Regions from separate parts of the Homo sapiens genome. Here all the other regions are linked to region 6. The links are contacts of gene promoters, found by promoter capture Hi-C in blood cells and fetal thymus (Javierre and others, 2016). All regions are on one chromosome and are shown on one strand. The core of a region is centred on a gene start or on the middle of the fragment in contact, and the rest is flanking DNA. Distances in the headings are between cores, read along the strand shown. Region 1 holds the start of OR5M1 (olfactory receptor family 5 subfamily M member 1). Region 2 holds the start of OR5D18 (olfactory receptor family 5 subfamily D member 18). Region 3 holds the start of OR5AP2 (olfactory receptor family 5 subfamily AP member 2). Region 4 holds the start of OR5M11 (olfactory receptor family 5 subfamily M member 11). Region 5 holds the start of OR5D14 (olfactory receptor family 5 subfamily D member 14). Region 6 holds the start of OR8K5 (olfactory receptor family 8 subfamily K member 5). Region 7 holds the start of OR4S2 (olfactory receptor family 4 subfamily S member 2).

Evidence for each region. The method cuts DNA at HindIII sites, captures the fragments that hold promoters and counts their contacts. A CHiCAGO score of 5 or more calls a contact.
Region 1: the fragment with the promoter of OR5M1 here is called in contact with the fragment with the promoter of OR8K5 in region 6 in 6 of 17 cell types (naive B cells, naive CD8 T cells, total B cells and 3 more); the score reaches 8.4 in naive B cells.
Region 2: the fragment with the promoter of OR5D18 here is called in contact with the fragment with the promoter of OR8K5 in region 6 in 5 of 17 cell types (erythroblasts, naive CD8 T cells, neutrophils and 2 more); the score reaches 7.9 in erythroblasts.
Region 3: the fragment with the promoter of OR5AP2 here is called in contact with the fragment with the promoter of OR8K5 in region 6 in 8 of 17 cell types (M2 macrophages, endothelial precursors, erythroblasts and 5 more); the score reaches 11.6 in M2 macrophages.
Region 4: the fragment with the promoter of OR5M11 here is called in contact with the fragment with the promoter of OR8K5 in region 6 in 13 of 17 cell types (erythroblasts, M1 macrophages, M0 macrophages and 10 more); the score reaches 14.3 in erythroblasts.
Region 5: a contact is called between the fragment with the promoter of OR5D14 here and the fragment with the promoter of OR8K5 in region 6, in 12 of 17 cell types (fetal thymus, total B cells, total CD4 T cells and 9 more). The highest score is 13.1, in fetal thymus.
Region 7: a contact is called between the fragment with the promoter of OR4S2 here and the fragment with the promoter of OR8K5 in region 6, in 6 of 17 cell types (total CD4 T cells, neutrophils, monocytes and 3 more). The highest score is 9.0, in total CD4 T cells.

What each region holds. Positions count from the first base shown.
Region 1 is chr11:56,613,458-56,616,282 of GRCh38, forward strand. It overlaps OR5M1 (olfactory receptor family 5 subfamily M member 1), which reads right to left and starts at 1,417. Exons shown (of 2, transcript NM_001004740.2): 1 at 1,400-1,417; 2 at 1-62. The coding sequence starts at 45. The HindIII fragment of the contact is 6,001 bases long and covers 1-2,825 here.
Region 2 is chr11:55,818,254-55,820,953 of GRCh38, forward strand. OR5D18 (olfactory receptor family 5 subfamily D member 18) reads left to right here and starts at 1,377. Exons shown (of 1, transcript NM_001001952.1): 1 at 1,377-2,318. The coding sequence starts at 1,377. The coding sequence ends at 2,318. The HindIII fragment of the contact is 3,860 bases long and covers 659-2,700 here.
Region 3 is chr11:56,641,130-56,643,835 of GRCh38, forward strand. It overlaps OR5AP2 (olfactory receptor family 5 subfamily AP member 2), which reads right to left and starts at 1,310. Exons shown (of 1, transcript NM_001002925.1): 1 at 360-1,310. The coding sequence starts at 1,310. The coding sequence ends at 360. The HindIII fragment of the contact is 8,469 bases long and covers 89-2,706 here.
Region 4 is chr11:56,541,762-56,544,585 of GRCh38, forward strand. It overlaps OR5M11 (olfactory receptor family 5 subfamily M member 11), which reads right to left and starts at 1,496. Exons shown (of 1, transcript NM_001005245.1): 1 at 579-1,496. The coding sequence starts at 1,496. The coding sequence ends at 579. The HindIII fragment of the contact is 1,332 bases long and covers 940-2,271 here.
Region 5 is chr11:55,794,264-55,796,963 of GRCh38, forward strand. It overlaps OR5D14 (olfactory receptor family 5 subfamily D member 14), which reads left to right and starts at 1,293. Exons shown (of 1, transcript NM_001004735.1): 1 at 1,293-2,237. The coding sequence starts at 1,293. The coding sequence ends at 2,237. The HindIII fragment of the contact is 1,368 bases long and covers 1-1,362 here.
Region 6 is chr11:56,159,033-56,161,906 of GRCh38, forward strand. OR8K5 (olfactory receptor family 8 subfamily K member 5) reads right to left here and starts at 1,285. Exons shown (of 1, transcript NM_001004058.2): 1 at 362-1,285. The coding sequence starts at 1,285. The coding sequence ends at 362. The HindIII fragment of the contact is 6,274 bases long and covers 1-2,247 here.
Region 7 is chr11:55,646,900-55,649,686 of GRCh38, forward strand. OR4S2 (olfactory receptor family 4 subfamily S member 2) reads left to right here and starts at 1,428. Exons shown (of 2, transcript NM_001004059.3): 1 at 1,428-1,651. The HindIII fragment of the contact is 13,020 bases long and covers 1-2,787 here.

The DNA of each region.
Region 1 (2,825 bases), core at 167-2,666, 450 kb after region 6:
CAAGAGAATGAATTCTGTCACTATGGTGTGGTTTGGGGAGAACATCTTCTTATCTCTTGAAACTGAAAGTGACAAAGAATGTGAGGATTTCTCTCTGATTCAGATTTGGCATTTGTTTCATCCATTTATCATTCGCTCATTCATCTATTTATCTAGGTGACAATTACTTCTCTTGTTTCAATAATCACATCGGAAATTTTACATAACATTGTCTCCCTATATGTCTGTTTTAATCTGTATCTTTCTATACATCAAACCCACATAACTTACACAAACATACATATTCTCTATTTCTCTCTGCCATACATGTATACATACATAAGTTTATTCATTCCTACATTTATACCTGTCTTCTTGGTGTACTCCACATTTGGTAATTTTATTCAAACTTCGTGAGGAAACAAAAAATCCAAAGGAATGAAAATTAAATACAAAAACCCTAGGTTATTTGCATCTTTCAAATGGATAAATAAAGGAAGTCTGATCTTTATTATACCTCCAGCTCTGATATTGTATTGTTTCAGATACAAAATGAAGAAAGAAAAGCAAAGCATTTTCAATTAAGACCCATAGCTGTGTGCCTTACCTTTATTCAGGAACGATTAAACTAGAGAAATTAATTTCTATCTGATATATGGCTAAGAGGGTACAAAATGAAGACTTGTTTTTTTCCACTTTGTAATGTCACTGCCTGTTTACTCATGTATACTGTATAGCTTCATTTCTTTCTGTTCCAATTCCTGCGGTTACTACAGTAAACAAGTCTCCCAGCTCAGGGAGCACACATTATAATAGAGGGAGCAGAGCACACATTATAATAGAGGGAACAGAGATTAAACACACAGAAAAAGTTACATACAATTTCAGGCAAACCATTTTTCTGTGAAGAAAACATGAATGTAGGATGCTTTTAGATGACCACTCAAAGAAGATCTTTCTAGGAATGCAGCATTTAAACAGCAGATATGCAATTCTACTATTTGGGGAAAGTGTGGATTTTTTTTGTTCCCATTTTTGTGCCACTAACCCACTCATGACAATATTGTTTAGGTATGCACAGATAATTTTTAAAAGGGGTCTTAGCTTCCAACTCAAGCCACTCTCTCTCAGTTCTCTTTGAAAGTAACATAAGATTGTAAAAATTTCTACTCCAAAAATTCCACCTTAAAGCCATTGTTTATTTAGTTCTCATGTATACATCAAAAGAGCTTACATATAATTGATTGTAGAGAGTCAATGCAATACTAACATATGGATAGAAAAGTCTAGTGAAATTGGAGAAAATATTTGTTTTCCCCATTGATGGAATACTTATCTCTACACACACACACACACACACACACACACACACACACACACAAATTGTATTTTTAGTGAACAAATGTAGAAAATGACCTACCTGTTAATGTTAATGGACCATATCTTATGAAAACAAGGTAGCAAGATTTACAATATATTTATTAGGTATCTTCCCTAGAGTATTTTTAAACTAATTCTAAAGAGCCAATTAAAATATGCTTTGTTCCTCAAGAGCATAACCTTCATTTGATGCTTCCTGGAGCTAGACTCTCCTGCGAGGATAAAATTCCTATTTTACATTTATGTAGAGTTTCGGTACAAGTGTGCATGAGATCCTTAGTACAAACAGAGAAATTAGCCATCCCTTTCAATAACATGGAAGAGGAAAACATGGGTAGATAACTTCTGCCTTTTTAGTATGATGAAAACAAGGAATTCTCATCAGAACTCTTCAGCTTTTGCCTATAAACACTGCAGTGAGGTCATCTAATGAGTGAGGGGTAGGAAGTTGTGGCAGGTGAGACATTTGAGAAGATGAAAGATTTCAAAGACTGTGAGAGCAGAAGAGTGGCATAATCAGTAGAAGGAGGCAGAAGTATTGGTCAGGGCCCAGGATCCTTTGGAGGACGGGCGTTATGGATTTATTTTGGAACTAGTCTGCACTATCAAGGTTAATATTAACATGCTAATCATCAAAGGTCTCAGAACCAGGGCTATTTATAAAATTGATGATGCATAAAATTGTTGATTTAGAAAGGGAATTGCAAATAGAATGAGAATATTTGAAAATTGTGTAGCACTGTATTTGTTGGAGGACAAAGGGACCTAGAGATGCGTTCATTAGTCTGTATCTTCCAGTGCACATATAGTTCCAGGTTAGCACAAATGGATCAAAGTACAGTCTGACCAAGACGGAGAATCATCCCTAATTTTATTAGAGTTGCGGGTGGTGGGTTATACTCCGAGAAATCATTTAATAAAATATAGCTATATATCAAAATCAAAATGTAGATTTGTTACATCCCATGAAATTTGAGAATATAGGGCATTCCTATATGTTTATTTCAAATTGATGTGTAAAGTCTTCTCTATCTCAATTATTCTGTTTTATTTTGGTTCCTTGCATTACTAAAATTGTAAAATGCAATAATATTGCTTAAATATTTTGGAAGCCGGGCACGGTGGCTCTTGCCTATAATCCCAGCACTTTGGGAGGCCAAGGCCGCTAGATCACCTGAGGTCAAGAGTTTGAGGCCAGCCTGGCCAACATGGCGAAACCCTGTCTCTACTAAAAATACAAAACTTAGCCAGGTTTGGTGGTGCGTGCCTGTAATCCCAGCTACTCAGGAGGCTGAGGCAGGGAGAATTGCTTGAACCCAGGAGGCAGAGGTTGCAATGAGCCAAAATTACACCACTGCACCTCAGCCTGGGTGACAGAGCGAGACTTCATCTCAAAAAAAAAAATTAAGATGGAATATAAGGTATCATAAGATTATAAAACTGGTGTCCCTCATTTCCTCCTCCCT
Region 2 (2,700 bases), core at 127-2,626, 340 kb before region 6:
CTTGCATGTAAATTAACATCTTTCTTGATAGGCCGTCTAAAAATTTGGGTGGGTTATGTGAATAGATATAATGTCTATTATGATAGAGAAAGAGATTACAGATATGATAGCATCTGAGAGGTGTTGGACACTAATTAGAGCAATATAATGATTCTTTCCTATTATTGTTTTCTGTTTTCTCATGAAATGTATTCATGTTGCTGTACTATCTCAAGTTTTTAGTTCTTCTCCTTCATAGGTAATAGATGGACACAATGAATATATAATGTGTCTTGAAGGGAGAGAAAAGAAATAGACATGGAGACAGGGATAGACAGAGAGGACCTAGAAGAAAAGGGAAGTTTGCAAGTCAGACTCTTACACTAGTTATTTCTGGGTAAAAAGATTTTCCTCAATCCCATTCTCATGTGTTTTATCTTGATGCTGCTTTCTAATATATCTTTGTGGCAGTAACTGTCACTGGACTATGTAGATTCTCTAGTCTGCTTATTAATTGAAAGTATGGTTATTAATGAAGGGAATGTGTTAGTATCTCGACCTAGATAATGGAGCAGAGTTTGGTGCGGGTAAAGGGTTACATGTCTAGGAGTTCAAGGATCAAAACCCTAGTCACAGATGTGTAGATTGGCCTTCCTGGGCATATCGATAGGAAATTCAAAGCTTCTCTGGCTTCTACTTTGTCACCTATAGAATAAAGAATAAACAAGGGTATCTGTATTGACTATTCGATATTTATTATTTCTCAAGCAATGAGGAAGGATTGATAATTAGTACAGCCTGATTTTGGAGCATACGCTCTGAAACAATTAGTTCAGCTGTATTTTGAAGTCAAATTTTCTGGGTCAGACAAACATTAAACTGCTATATGGAATTAACAATAAAGGCACAAATGTTAAGCGTTAGGGCTCTTGATAGTTAATGTCATCGTATAAACAAATTATGTGAAAACTAATTTATGAAATTTTGATTTGTATAACTGATTATAAGATTTACACAATCAGTCATCATATTATACGAGGAAGATCATTTATGTAGAATGCTTAAGGAGGCCTGAAATTATTATGTAAATTTTTAATTTAAAATAATCACAAATATTTAATCTCATTTTCCTATATTTGGAAATATTAAAAATTACAGTTACTAACTTACTCTTTTACTCAATAATTGTATTTTTCTTAAGAAATTAAAAAACATTACAGTGTTTTTACATGTTAGATATTTAAGAAATCTTAAACAACAAACTCATAGATTCCGGAAGAGATATTTGCTTCATCCTTCAGGAGCCGTAAAGGTATTCAATCACCCTTCTTATTTTCTCATTCTCCTTAACATTTTTGTTTTCAGAACTAACTTTCAGATTCGAAGAAACAGAAGCGATGCTGCTGACTGATAGAAATACAAGTGGGACCACGTTCACCCTCTTGGGCTTCTCAGATTACCCAGAACTGCAAGTCCCACTCTTCCTGGTTTTTCTGGCCATCTACAATGTCACTGTGCTAGGGAATATTGGGTTGATTGTGATCATCAAAATCAACCCCAAACTGCATACCCCCATGTACTTTTTCCTCAGCCAACTCTCCTTTGTGGATTTCTGCTATTCCTCCATCATTGCTCCCAAGATGTTGGTGAACCTTGTTGTCAAAGACAGAACCATTTCATTTTTAGGATGCGTAGTACAATTCTTTTTCTTCTGTACCTTTGTGGTCACTGAATCCTTTTTATTAGCTGTGATGGCCTATGACCGCTTCGTGGCCATTTGCAACCCTCTGCTCTACACAGTTAACATGTCCCAGAAACTCTGCGTGCTGCTGGTTGTGGGATCCTATGCCTGGGGAGTCTCATGTTCCTTGGAACTGACGTGCTCTGCTTTAAAGTTATGTTTTCATGGTTTCAACACAATCAATCACTTCTTCTGTGAGTTCTCCTCACTACTCTCCCTTTCTTGCTCTGATACTTACATCAACCAGTGGCTGCTATTCTTTCTTGCCACCTTTAATGAAATCAGCACACTACTCATCGTTCTCACATCTTATGCGTTCATTGTTGTAACCATCCTCAAGATGCGTTCAGTCAGTGGGCGCCGCAAAGCCTTCTCCACCTGTGCCTCCCACCTGACTGCCATCACCATCTTCCATGGCACCATCCTCTTCCTTTACTGTGTGCCCAACTCCAAAAACTCCAGGCACACAGTCAAAGTGGCCTCTGTGTTTTACACCGTGGTGATCCCCATGTTGAATCCCCTGATCTACAGTCTGAGAAATAAAGATGTCAAGGATACAGTCACCGAGATACTGGACACCAAAGTCTTCTCTTACTGAGCCTGTTACTTTCATGGAGTTTGTCACACATATAAATAAATTCTGTCCATAAATATTGATCTTAAAGATATCTTTACAAATAAACAAAGTTAGGGTTGTACAACTCAACGAAATGGATTTTCTTTTCAACAGACTAAACTTAGCTCTGTCTCTTACTTTCTGGGAAGCATCAGTAATCCCTCTAATCTTTAATATTTCATTTATGAAATTAGTATAGTATGGGTTAGATCATAGTCTGATTGTGAAGATTAAAATATAATGGACACCTTACGTAAGTCAATGGATATTAATTTCATGTCCTTTCCTTATAAGATACCGGGAATAGACTAAGTGCTTAGGAAACATATGAATTTCTTTTATAAATGTGCAAAATAAGTTAAAA
Region 3 (2,706 bases), core at 60-2,559, 480 kb after region 6:
TTCTGCCTAAAAATATCTCTCTGTCTCAGTTTGTTTGCCCAGAACCCAAAGACACCAATGTTTGTATAATAAAACTCAGACTGAGATAAGCTTAATATTTAAATTAAAACTTAAGTCCAGATTAGCCAATTCCAAGTGTTTTGATACTTTTTCCAGTCCCAACCTTCATCTAGTGTATTGGTGCATCAAAGGGACCCGTGTGTGTGTGTGTATATATATATGAGATACTAGGATATTAAAAAGTATACTTCATTTTAAATTATCTACTTTAACACAGAGAAACAGCTTAAACAATCAGAGAATACAGTTAACATGAAAATGTATTTTCTTCTACGTAACAAATGATGGGTAACATGGCTCTACAAGATGTGTTTCCATAAGATCTTCTTTAGGGCCTTTTTTACATCCTTATTTTTTAAACTATAGATGAGGGGATTTAGCACAGGGATTATTACTGTATAAAAGACAGAGACAACCTTGTCTTGCTCCATTGAGTAGCTAGATGTAGGGCGCAAGTACATGAAGAGGATTGTTCCAAAGAATATGGTGACAGCCATGAGGTAAGAGGCACAGGTGGAGAAGGCTTTGTGCCTGCCCTCTAACGAAGGCATCTTCAAGACGGCAATGAAGATACACAGGTAGGAAATGAGGACAATCATAACACAGCTGATGACAATAAAACTTGAGAATGCCATGATCACAATGCCATTGAAGTGGGTATCAGAGCAAGAGAGTTTGAGCAGTGGCGGGGTGTCACAGTAGAAATGGTTGATCCTATTAGAACCACAAAAGGACAACCTAAAAGTCATCCCTGTATGTATGGCTGCATTTCCACAACCTGCTAAGAAGGAGGTAGCTATTAGCAAAAAGCAAATTCTCCCAGACACGAGAACTGGGTAGAGCAGGGGGTTCCAAATGGCTGCATAGCGGTCATATGCCATCATGGCCAACAGGAAGCACTCAGTCCCCAGGAAGGAGCCAAAGAAGTAGAACTGGGCAGCACATCCATGAAAAGAAATGGCCTTATTCTCAGCCATGAGGTTCACCAGCATCTTGGGAGTGACGGAAGAAGAGTAAGAGGCATCTACAAAAGAGAGGCTACTGAGAAAGAAATACATGGGGGTGTGGAGACAGAGATCAATCTTAATCAATACAATCATCCCCAAATTGCCCACCATGTTTGCCATATAGATCAACAGAAACAATGCAAAGAGGACTCCTTGTAGATCTGGATTGTCGGAAAGTCCTAAGAGGAGAAATTCTGTTACTTCTGTTTGATTTCTGCCTCGAACCTCTTTCATAAGTCTCATCATTTGAGCTGCAATAAGAAAGAAGATGCACAGTGGAATTTAGTCAGATGAATACATGATGGAGCTATAATATATTTTTAGTGAAACAACTTCTAACAGAAGAGCAAAAAGTGAAAAGCATAATAAAAGGTATGTTGGATTTGATGCCAAATCAAAAGACTTGTAGTACTAGATGTGCTGTCTACTAATGACTGAAGCAAGTGATTTAGTGTGTATTAACTATGGTCATTCCTACAGTTAACTCTTTATTGAATAATTAAAATAACTTATTCTTAAGATGTGACTGTCATAATTACTTGTGATAAATAAATTAATTTATATATACTGACATACCCTCCAGACACAACTTCTGGAGAAGGATGATAGAATGAATTCAGGACACTTACAATTCCTCCTCAGTACTAATAGAATGAATAAAAATATTGAAAGTTAATAAAATTAATCTATAGTGCCAGACAAGAAAAATAGTTGGGCTGGGCCTGGTGGCTTACAACTGTAATCCCAGTACTTTGAGAGACCAAGGCAAGGCAGATCACTTGAGCTCAAGAGTTAAAGACCAGCCTGGGCAATGTGGCAAAATCTCCTCTCTGCAATATTTAAAAAAAAAAAAAAAAAAAGCTATGTGTGGTGGCTCATCCCTGTGGTCTCAGCTACTCAGGAGGCTGAGGTGGGAGGATTGCTTGACCCCAGGAGTTTGAGGCTGCACTGAGCTGGGTTTGCACCACTGCACCACTCCAGCCTGTGCAGTAGAGTGAGACGGTGCCAAAAAAAAAAAAAAAAGAGAAAGAAAGAAAGAAGGAAACAAAGAAAGAAAGAAAGAAGGAAGGAAGGAGAGAGAGAAGGAAGGAAGGAAGGAAGGAAGGAAGGAAGGAAGGAAGGAAGGAAGGAAGGAAAAAAGAAAGAAAGGAAAGAAAGAAAGAGAGAAGGAAAGAAAGAGAAAAGAAAGAAAGAAAGAAAAACAGCAGAATCTCTTGGGGTAGAGGAAGAGCTTAAAAATGCCTGGCCAAAGAAGAAAATAGAGAATATTCCCACACAGCCAGTACAGTTCGAACCCCACTCTGATTTTCCATAATAAACATCTACAGAGAACAGAATAGGGTCAGTTAAATAGTAATTTTCCACAATTCATTCCAATATTTAGAGAATCAGATTGTAAGAATGAGTAGGCATCCCCGATAAAAATGGCAGAAGTAGCCAAGCCAGTGAAAATCTCTAATACTCACATTCACAAGTTCTCAAGAGAACCAGAAAACATCAGAAGTAGCACATGCAATTTTTCAGCCACCATACTTAATCAAGGGAATAATTTAATACCAAGTAATCAAAATGGAAATAAGAGTCACCCTTTGCAAGGTGTAATGAAGACAAACATAGGATAAGAAAAGTAAAAGAAATA
Region 4 (2,824 bases), core at 246-2,745, 380 kb after region 6:
GAAGCCATCACCATGGCCCCTAGTTTCTGGTCTACCACAGCAAGTCAGGAAAGGAGTACAGAAGAATGGATTTCTTGGAGTGCAGAAGAATGGGTTTCTTAAAGACATCTCTGCTGAAGCAGCAGGCGAGAATAAGAATAGAATACATTCAAGAAATTGGGCTGGGAGCACATTTATTTTGTTTGCCATTGTAAACAAAAAGAGCACAACAGTGTTCCAGGGCATGCCACGTTTCACCCACAGCAGTGCTCCTCAAAATTCAGTGTGCTTATCAATCATCTAGGAGTTTGGATAAAACACATATTTAAATACAGTGCACCTGAGGTGCAGACTTTGATTCTGTACGTGTAACAACCTCCAAGGAAGAGCTCATGCTGCTGATTCATGGAATATATGTGGAGGAGCAAAGCCTAGAAAAATCTCATTTTTACCCAGCATGAGCTTTTTAGCTGAGACACTCAACATAGACTCACAGAGAATATTAAAACTCACCATCAGAACGCTAGGACATGTGAGCCAAAGATTTCGATTTAATGTTTATTAGGAAACAAAGGCATCACCATGGTCATGACAATATTTCATCTCAGGACATTCTTCAAGGCCTGCTTCACATCTTTATTCCTCAGACTGTAGATCAATGGATTAAGTACCGGACTCACAAAGGTGTAAAAGACAGCTATTATTTTAGATTCCTCAACAGTCTTATCTGTTGGTGGTCTTATATACATGCAAAAGAGAGTCCCATAAAACAGGGTGACAGCCATCATATGGGAACCACAGGTGGAGAATGCCTTGTGCCTTCCCTCTGCTGATTTGATCCGGAGGATGGCAGCAAGAATGAAGGCATAGGACACCAAGACGATGGTGAGGGAGCTGGAGAGGTTGAAGCCAGCAGATATGAACATGGCATGCTCTTTGACATAAGTATCAGAACAAGAAAGCTTAATGAGCGGCGGGTCAGCACAGTAGAAGTGGTTGATGACACTGGATCTACAGAAGGTCAGGCGGAAGGTCAGGATGGCCTGGAAGAGTCCATCTGAGAAGCCATAGACATAGGGAAATGTGGCCAAGCAGATGCAAACTCTCCTGGACGTTTTCACACTGTAGCGCAGAGGGTCATATATGGCCACATAGCGGTCATAGGCCATTGCTGCCAGCATGTAAAACTCAGTGAGTAGAAGGGCAATGAAAATGTAGCACTGTGTAAAGCAACCAGCAAAGGAAATGGTCTTCTCAGATACGATATTAGTCGACATCTGCGGGGTTGCATTTGATGTATAGCACAAATCCACAAAGGCTAAGTTAGTGAGGAAGAAGTACATGGGCGTGTGAAGGCGAGAGTCCAGTCTCATTAACATTATCATGCCCAGGTTGCCTAGCAGGGTGACGAGGTAAACAACCAGAAACAGCACAAAAAGCAGAGACTGGAGTTCCGGGCAATCTGTGAGCCCAAGTAAAATGAATTCTGTGATTGCACTGCCATTTGTGTTGGACATTTCCTGACAGTTTGCTCTTCAAGCTATGGAAATAAAGCCAATATAAACAAATGCACATACCATGTTAATGTTCATTTGAATTAGTTTTTCTCCACATCTTCATATATCATCGAAAGTTATCTATTTCTGGGTACTACCATAAACTGGTTTTGGTAATTATGGTAGACTTACTATAATTTTGTAAGTCTACAATGTCATTATATCATTTGCCTAGGCATTACATTACTAATATATTCTTTCTCTACACCTATAGATATATCTATACCTACACCTGTATCTATCTATCCATCATCTATCTATCTATCTATCTATCTATCTATCTATATGACTGAGCTACATCTCTTCTATCTTCCTGTACTTTTTAAAACCTAATTCTATTCATGCTACATGACCCACTTTAAAGGCCACTTCTTTGTGAAGCATTTCTCATCCATTTCTCCTAATACGTGTCACTGAATTCTCTCTTCTTTATTTCCAGAGTATTCTATATTTCTCTAATTTATTATTTAGCCCCCATTGTATCATTATAAAGTATATACTTTCTCATCACATAATGGTGTTGAGAGCAGGGACAAAGTGAAGTTCATTTTTTAATTATACTTCTCAACACATATTTTTATACTAAATTTTCTTAAAATGCAAAAAGGAGAGCATGTAAGAATGAATGACTTGCAATTTTTACTCACAGATTTATCTCCATGTAGCCTTGCGTGATGTCATGTTCTCAGGAGAATTAAGTGATTATTGAAACTTAGTGTAGAAGCAATTCTTGGGAAGCTTGTTTATTAGCCCATATCACAGGTTTTTGCAGAAATTCTTATGTGGGGTACTGGAATCTTCATCTCTAATGATTATCTGTAGGATTCTAATGCAAGTGTTCCAAGATCATAGCTCAAAATGCACAGTCAGAATGGCTCAATAAACATATGCCAAATAAATGAACAAAGAACTGTGAAATAAAATAAATTTTCATATAGTATCTTGAGGATGTTTAGAGCAATGACTTAATGTGTTTAGAAAGAAAATAAATTAATATTTTCAGAGTTGGTATTTAATCTTTTAATCACAACTTGTATCTAACAAGAGGTATTACAAATCCTTTTGGCTTTTTACCTCTCTTCACATCAGAATCTTTGCTAATTCACATTTTCCTTTCTTTCGAGAAGTTTTTAATTTTTGCCCATTCTTTCATACTTGAAATTTTTATTACAGGCTTCTCAATTCTTGTCTCATCTCAAAATGAGTCACCTCATTTATTTTACTGTAAGTTTTAGAATGCCTATAATCAAAACTCTGTCTTGCTGTTACTATTGAGAAAAGCAACGTAC
Region 5 (2,700 bases), core at 43-2,542, 360 kb before region 6:
ATAGTTAACTTCATGCTGCATTTTTTTTTCTGAGTAGTTTCAAGGAAATTCCAGTCACTAAATGTGACACAAGAGACTTGGTATTTGCCTTAATTGCCTGTTTTGATGCTTGTAAAGAGTAAGTTGTTAGTGATTCTCCAGAGTTTGAGTCCCTAGGGCTATGAAGTTAAATGAAAGAGTCTTGGTGCCTCAGGTATACACTGTCTGAAGAGACAGGAGGGTGGCAGCCTGTTTCTTTGTATGTAGCAGGTAAGTGTATTCAGGCTTTCTATGAAACTGAAAATAGGGTCTTCCTGATACGGCAAATGGGGCCTTTGATTTTTTAAATGTTAAATCACTGTGTTATTCAATTCTGTGCCCAATAATATTAAAAAATGAGGTCAACACTCATGAAAATATTTAGCCTTATATCCATTGAAAATTATCTCATGATGAATAGTATAAACTTGCTACTTGGAAATGGATATTTATCCATATTTCCTTTATATTCATCTTAAATTAGTGTGTAAATTTTTATAAGATTGAAAACTAGTCAGGCTTAAGGGAACTTTCACCTGATAAATCTTGAGACTCTTATAAGATACTTATGCAATACCTGAGCTATAGTAGATGCTGACCCTTAAGTCATAAACCCCAATAAAATGCCCATTCCACCAAGAGGTCAAAAGTAGGCCATTGTCCTTGTCAACTCCTCAGCAACTAAGATATTCAATGAGAGAAGTAGCCTTTCTAGAATAAAAGTTGGTAAAAAGTGGAATTAGTGTGCTCTTTTTCCAGATTTCTACAATATTTTCCTTTATCCTTAGAATAGAAATATATTCTGAATATTTTAATCAATTTGTCTATATAAACAAATACAGTAGCAATGCATGTTGTTGTTTGATGTAAATATTTTACATTTTCCACAGAATCTTTATTAGTTTATATATTTATGTATAAACATTTTCTATAAGTTATGTGCATGTCATGCTACTAGTTAATGTGTAGACATGTATACTACTGTACACATATACACACACATACACATACACATATATATTCACACATATATATATGTATGAAAACAGAAAGTGTAATAAAAATGGAAAGACACTCCAAAGACTTGGCTTGGTTTGTTTTAGACATAACAGCTGCCTGCATGAGGTATGTTCTTCTTGGACAAAACTAGGACCAGTAACTATTCCTTCTCCTTTTTTCCTTTTAATCAAAGAAAGTCATGACATAATTATCACTCACCCCATATTTTGCTTTGGCAGGAACAATTCTCTTCAACCCTTCCATTAAAAGGAATTATGATGATGGTTTTAAGGAATCTGAGCATGGAGCCCACCTTTGCCCTTTTAGGTTTCACAGATTACCCAAAGCTTCAGATTCCTCTCTTCCTTGTGTTTCTGCTCATGTATGTTATCACAGTGGTAGGAAACCTTGGGATGATCATAATAATCAAGATTAACCCCAAATTTCACACTCCTATGTACTTTTTCCTTAGTCACCTCTCTTTTGTTGATTTTTGTTACTCTTCCATTGTCACTCCCAAGCTGCTTGAGAACTTGGTAATGGCAGATAAAAGCATCTTCTACTTTAGCTGCATGATGCAGTACTTCCTGTCCTGCACTGCTGTGGTGACAGAGTCTTTCTTGCTGGCAGTGATGGCCTATGACCGCTTTGTGGCCATCTGCAATCCTCTGCTTTATACAGTGGCCATGTCACAGAGGCTCTGTGCCCTGCTGGTGGCTGGGTCATATCTCTGGGGCATGTTTGGCCCCTTGGTACTCCTTTGTTATGCTCTCCGGTTAAACTTCTCTGGACCTAATGTAATCAACCACTTCTTTTGTGAGTATACTGCTCTCATCTCTGTGTCTGGCTCTGATATACTCATCCCCCACCTGCTGCTTTTCAGCTTCGCCACCTTCAATGAGATGTGTACACTACTGATCATCCTCACTTCCTATGTTTTCATTTTTGTGACTGTACTAAAAATCCGTTCTGTTAGTGGGCGCCACAAAGCCTTCTCCACCTGGGCCTCCCACCTGACTTCTATCACCATCTTCCATGGGACCATCCTTTTCCTTTACTGTGTACCCAACTCCAAAAACTCTCGGCAAACAGTCAAAGTGGCCTCTGTATTTTACACAGTTGTCAACCCCATGCTGAACCCTCTGATCTACAGCCTAAGGAATAAAGACGTGAAGGATGCTTTCTGGAAGTTAATACATACACAAGTTCCATTTCACTGAACCAGTCTCAAAAGTTGTTTTCAATCCAAATGAACAACCCAAACAGAGGCTACAATGTTTCTAAAGCCTAGAGCATATATTTATATGAGGTTTTTATGGAATTGTCAAATGTGAATTGATATAGCATTCCCAGTATTATCAGGTTCAGAAATCTCTACAAGTTTAGTCCAGTTTATACAAAATGAATGAAAATAAACATTTAATCTGAAAACAATGAGAAACCATATTTCAAAATTATTTCTAACTTTTATATGAATGACTAAATAAACACAAATATTTGGTAACAAATACTATACAAATTCAAGCAACATTCTCCAAATTTTCTCTAAAAAGAAACCTTTCCCCTAGGAACAAAACTAGGGCTTCTTGGAGAAATGGCTAATTTGAAGTCTAGGGTGGAAAATAGGCAAGATGAGCTTTGGGCAATTTAATGCTCCAGAAAGATAGAATACTATCAGCAGCT
Region 6 (2,874 bases), core at 35-2,534:
TGTTCTCACTTATAAGTGGGAGCTAAACTATGAGGATACAAATAGGTAAGAATGACATAATGTATTTTGGGGACACAGGGAAAAGTGTGCAGTGTGGGCGAGGGATAAAAGGCTACACATTGAGTACAGTGTACACTGCTCAGGTGATGAGTGCACCAAAACCTCAGAAATTACCCCAATGAACTTATTCACATAACCAGAAACCTCCTACTTCCCAAAAATTATTGAAATAAAAAACAATTAAAAAAATTTGAAAATTGGAAAATTTATATACACATGAAAAATTATCAAGTGACATTAATCTATATTATATATTTATTATAACAATATTACAAATTGATTATTAAACACAAAGTTGACATCAATTCTCAAAGAGCTTATAGAAGGCATTTTTCACCTCTTCGTTTCTTAAGCTGTAAATCAAAGGGTTAAGCATGGGGATTACTAAAGTGTAAAACACAGAAGCCATTTTATCAGTATCAAAGAAGTGAGTGGAATTGGGCTGCATGTACATGAAGAGTAGAGACCCATAGAACACAACCACCACTGTCAAATGGGAACCACATGTGGAGAAAGCCTTTTTCCTGCCCTCTGCAGAATGCATTTGACATATAGCTAACAAAATCAACATGTAGGACACTAAGACTATCAGAAAGGAGGAGATCAAATTAAATACAGAAAATAGTATGCTCAACAATTCTATTTCCTGTGCATTTGAGCAAAGCATAGGTAGCAAAGGAACATCATCACAGTAAAAATGACTGATGACATTAGAGCCACAGAAGGTCAATGTAAAAATCTTAATAGTGAACATCAGAGCCTGAAATGTGCTGTAGAGATATTGAATGCCCACCAGTACATGACACAGTCGCTGAGACATAATAACATAATAGAGCAGAGGGTTACAAATGGCCACATAGCGGTCATAGGCCATGGCTGACAGGATGAAAAATTCACTGATAATGAACATAAGGAAGAATGCCAGCTGTGCAGCACATGCATAATAGGAAATAGTATTTCGATCCACAACAAAATTTGCCAGCACCTTGGGACAAATGACAGTAGAATTACCAAGATCAACAAAAGCCAAATGTCTGATAGAAAAGTACATAGGTGTATGTAAGTGGGAGTCCAGTTTGGTCAAAATGATCATAGTTAGGTTGCCCACCACTGTGATTAGGTAGATGACGAGGAAGACTCCAAAAAGGGGAATCTGCAGCTCAGGCCGCCTTGTGAGTTCCATCAGAATGAATTCAGTTAGCACTGTTAGATTGTGTTGGCCCATTTAGTCCAGTTATCTCTTCTAGGAAGAAACAGTTGGGTTATTAGCTGTTCCATGTAGTGCTATTTAAACAAATTATAATATTTGTAGACAGAATAGATTGTTATTCACAATAGATAATAGAAACATTATTTCTACATTTGATTCAGAAATGAAATATAAAGCAAAATTTTCTACTTTCCTAAAAGAGGAATTCATGTAAAATACATGCACTGAAACAACATAGATTAAATAGTTTCATCAATATTTGAAGTATATCGGTTAATAACACAGCCATATAGGTATTATTACAAAAAGATTATGCTCTTTTCATCTGCACAATGGTATCATGATTTTCTTTTGTTCACTTCCACTTTTGTTGTAAAACTTTTCTGTAATTTTGATATTCTCAAAGACAGAGGTAGAGATGGCAATAAGATAATGAAGGTTAAGATTTGGGGTCCCTCATTTGCACTTCCAGGGTCTTGTGTGGGGACTTACGAATGCACGCAAAAATGATATATCTTTGTAAAATTTCAAATGTAAGATATAATAATCATGATCAATTAAGGCTGCTTTCTGTTTTCATTCCAACTTCTAGTATATCACACTTCAACTAATATCATAGTGACTTGACATTTCTGCAAGCATTGTGGGATCTAGCTAAAGAAGGATTGAGTTAATAATAGTTTATTTGATGTTCAATGGATATGTTTATATCATTCAGACACTATGATATTTATCACTGAATAATACTACCTATTCTGACTTAAGAATGTCTTCTAAGGATACTCTTGCCACCTGTATGCTGAGATGCATTTGGCATTTGATTAATTAACATACTATATTAATAAATTTTATATAGTTTGTGGCCATGGGTTTGTTTACTAATTACAATTTAAAGCTAATTTTCTATTCTAAATAAATATTCCCATTTATCTTTCAACTTGTATGTGTAATTTTATCTAAAAAGTCAAATTCTTCTAAGCTTCAAGACACATAATCTGGATCCACTTCTGCAAAAACATGATTTAAATCAATATTCAGTGATGACTATTTAATTATATGTACTTTATTTTCTGTAATAAAACACTGTGAAGATGGTAGGTTCTATAAATCATTTAAATAATTTGAGAATTTAGGACATCATATATTAGTGAATGACTTTTTTTCTGGAATTGTACAGTGGAGTATTCATGGAGATATAATACTGTAATTAAAACTATTTCAATGAAAAGTACTTCTCCCTTTATTTAAAAAATACACGGGAAGTCAATAAAAGAAAGTGGAACGTCCCTGATACAGATAGTGAAGATGTCTTAGCCTATTCCACTTAAATTCCCCTCTCCTTCAGTTTCCACTCATTGAAAATCTGGAACTCTGTGAGAGTGACTTTCAATTGGAATAGTAACGGAATTTTCCACAGATCTAATGTAGAATAGATTTATTATAATGTAATGGAATGTCAGCTTTAGCCTGCACATCCCTCAGGTAGAAAACTCTGAAAACCCACCTAAAGATCCAAAACTACAGTTTGGAGCAGGTGCAGTCCACAGCCACACTGTGGCATTTGGCAACACTTCTAGGTATCTGCTCATTAGTGGGAGACATTT
Region 7 (2,787 bases), core at 178-2,677, 510 kb before region 6:
ATTTGTTCCAAAACATATTTTTAAACATCTCCTAGATCTCAAAGTACATTTTGCAAAGTAGGAATAGAAGATATACTGACTCGCCCCACTACTCATCTAAATAACTGAGCAGCAGAATAGGGATCTCCAAAGATGTTCACATCTTAGTCCTCAGAACTTATCAATATATTTTGTTACATGATAAGGTGATTAAGATTGTAGATAAAAATTAAGTTTGCTAGTCAGTTGACCTTAAAACAAAGATGTTATCGTGCACTATCCATGTGGGCTCAACGTATTCACAAGGTTTATTTAAAATGGGAAAGTGAAGCAGAATAAGTTAAATTTGAAGATGCTACACTGCCTGCTTTGGAGATGAAGGAAAGGGGCCATAAGGAAGCTGGTAGATTCTAGAAGCTGGAACAGAATGAGTTTTCCCCTACAGACTTCGGAAGGATTCATCCTTTCCAATGCCTTGATTTTAGCCCAGTGAGCCTCATTTTGGACTTCTCACCTGCAGAACTGTGAAATACTGACTTTGTATTGATTTAAGCCACTAAGTTTGTGGTAATTCATTGCAGCAGCAACAGGAAACTAACACACTAGCTTAATCATGATGAATGTTTCCACAAACCTGGGCATAATTGCTCTTTTACTTCCTACTCTTTATTTTTCACTCATTTCTTCTGCTAACTCCAGATAGTGAAAATATAAGTAGGATCTCTTGGACATTTTGGATGTTGTTTGAAATAAAGAAAAAGGTAAGATAAGGTAAGAAGAGTAAAGTAAAAAAGTCAAGCATGGGGAAAGAAACTAATAGAAATAGGAAGAGAAAAAGCAAGATTATTATTAGTTTTCGTGAGTCAACCTTAAGAATTTACAATATAAAAGTAAATGAATTAAATTCAACACCATACTTATTCCAAGCATAGGCCAAACATGAACCTTATCCCAGCTATTTCTCCATAAATCAGCATAGAATCAATTAAGAAGAAAAGCAATGTTCCCAAATAGCACAATCGAATATACTATTTTCTATTACAATATAGCTTTCAAGAAAGAACAATTACAATTCAATAAATAACATAAAACAGATATCTTAATATGTTATATCAAATATGGACTATTTAATGCATATAGTAAAGCATATTAATTCAAAAACAAGGTTTAGAATGATAAAATTATTACTTCTCTTGGCTGAATTGCTTTGGATTAGGGCTATAGTCGTTAATATGAGAATTGATCGGTTTTTGTATTTAGCAACAATTTTTAAAATTTAATTTTAAAAAATTGAACAGACACTAGAATTAAAGTTCATTGGTAGGGCTGCAATTTGATTTTGACTATGGAGGAAGACTTTGGGGAAAAGCTGTCTCCAAGGTCATTTATCATTTTGCATCTTCCTCTTTAAATAGACCTGTAAGAATAGAGAAAACAGCATTTATTGTCAAAGACCCTGTGAAATGGCAGGTATCATTAGGTGAGAAAACCAGGAACAACAAAGACTCATTTCTACCAGCCTTTCAGTTTGGGGGGTCAGGTATTTTCCGGTACTAATTATTCACAAAGGAATTCCCTAGGCATCACTGTTACTTTACCTTGGGAAGCTGCACCCAAATTAACTCAAGAAGAGATAGAAACATAAAGTGAACTCAAGCTCTGGAAAATACTGGTGAGATTTTTTTTTCTTTTCAAACGAATACAGAATATTTGTGGAAAAAGATAATTAAATTGTTAGATTTTGAACATTTATAAAATAATGGAAAAATATTGTTCTCTGAAATACAGAGAGAATGAAATTATTAAAATCATGATAGTAAGATAGTAACATGTACCTAAACATGACTGTGAGGAAGGGTAGGATGGACACAAATAAGAAAATGTCAATAATTTCAAAGGAAAGTGAGTCATTATGCCCAACATGCCCAGATAAAGGAGGAAGGCATCCTTGTGATGGATATTGGCTTAAGGAGAGAAACAGCAAGATGTTACTGCATCAGTTGGAGTCAAGAGAGGCCATGATTCAGAAGGTTAACAGCCTTTACTAGGATGCACATTCTGATAAATGGAACTTTAGATCTCAATCCTGCAATTAAGATAAATGAATACCTGAATAAAATAGATTGGTGAATGAAAAAAAAAATTCCTCTAGAACCTTGTGATATGGACGGTAGGGGAAAAAATCCTCAGGCTTGTGTGCAAAAGCCCAGTTTCTTCTAGATGAGAGCAAAGCAACATAAATAATTGTTGCTCAAAACTGCTATGTTGTGAGCTTCCTTAAGTTGAGGGGCTCTCTTAGTGGAGGATGGTATTTTTCTTTTAATTCAGCAGGATAACTGAAGAGGAATGAGCATGTAAAAGCAGGGGATGTGCTTGAGACTGTATCTAAATCATATTACTATTACTCTTACAATCATTATTTTGTAATGCACAAGAGATAGCACACCTGTAATGACTACTGTGCCAACTCTAACATGAATACCTGAAGAAACACAATCCTATAGATTCCCAAAAGCTGGAAGTATTAGGCACGACTTCACTGCATAAGGATAGCTGAGAGCACAGAGTTTAGTAGGAGTTGTCAGCATTCAGCTGGATGGATCTTGAGAGGATCTACAGGTCTCTGCTAGACCACCTGTAATTGGAGGGATCATTTACACCTGCGGTTGATTAGCGAAAGAATCCTAAAAGCTCCTTTAATCAAAACTATTACAGATACCCTTTTCCATCCATGTACCAATGACCCCATTGTAGTGCCTGAAATTTCACCAATGAATATTCATCCATTTAGATAAATGTCATTTTCCT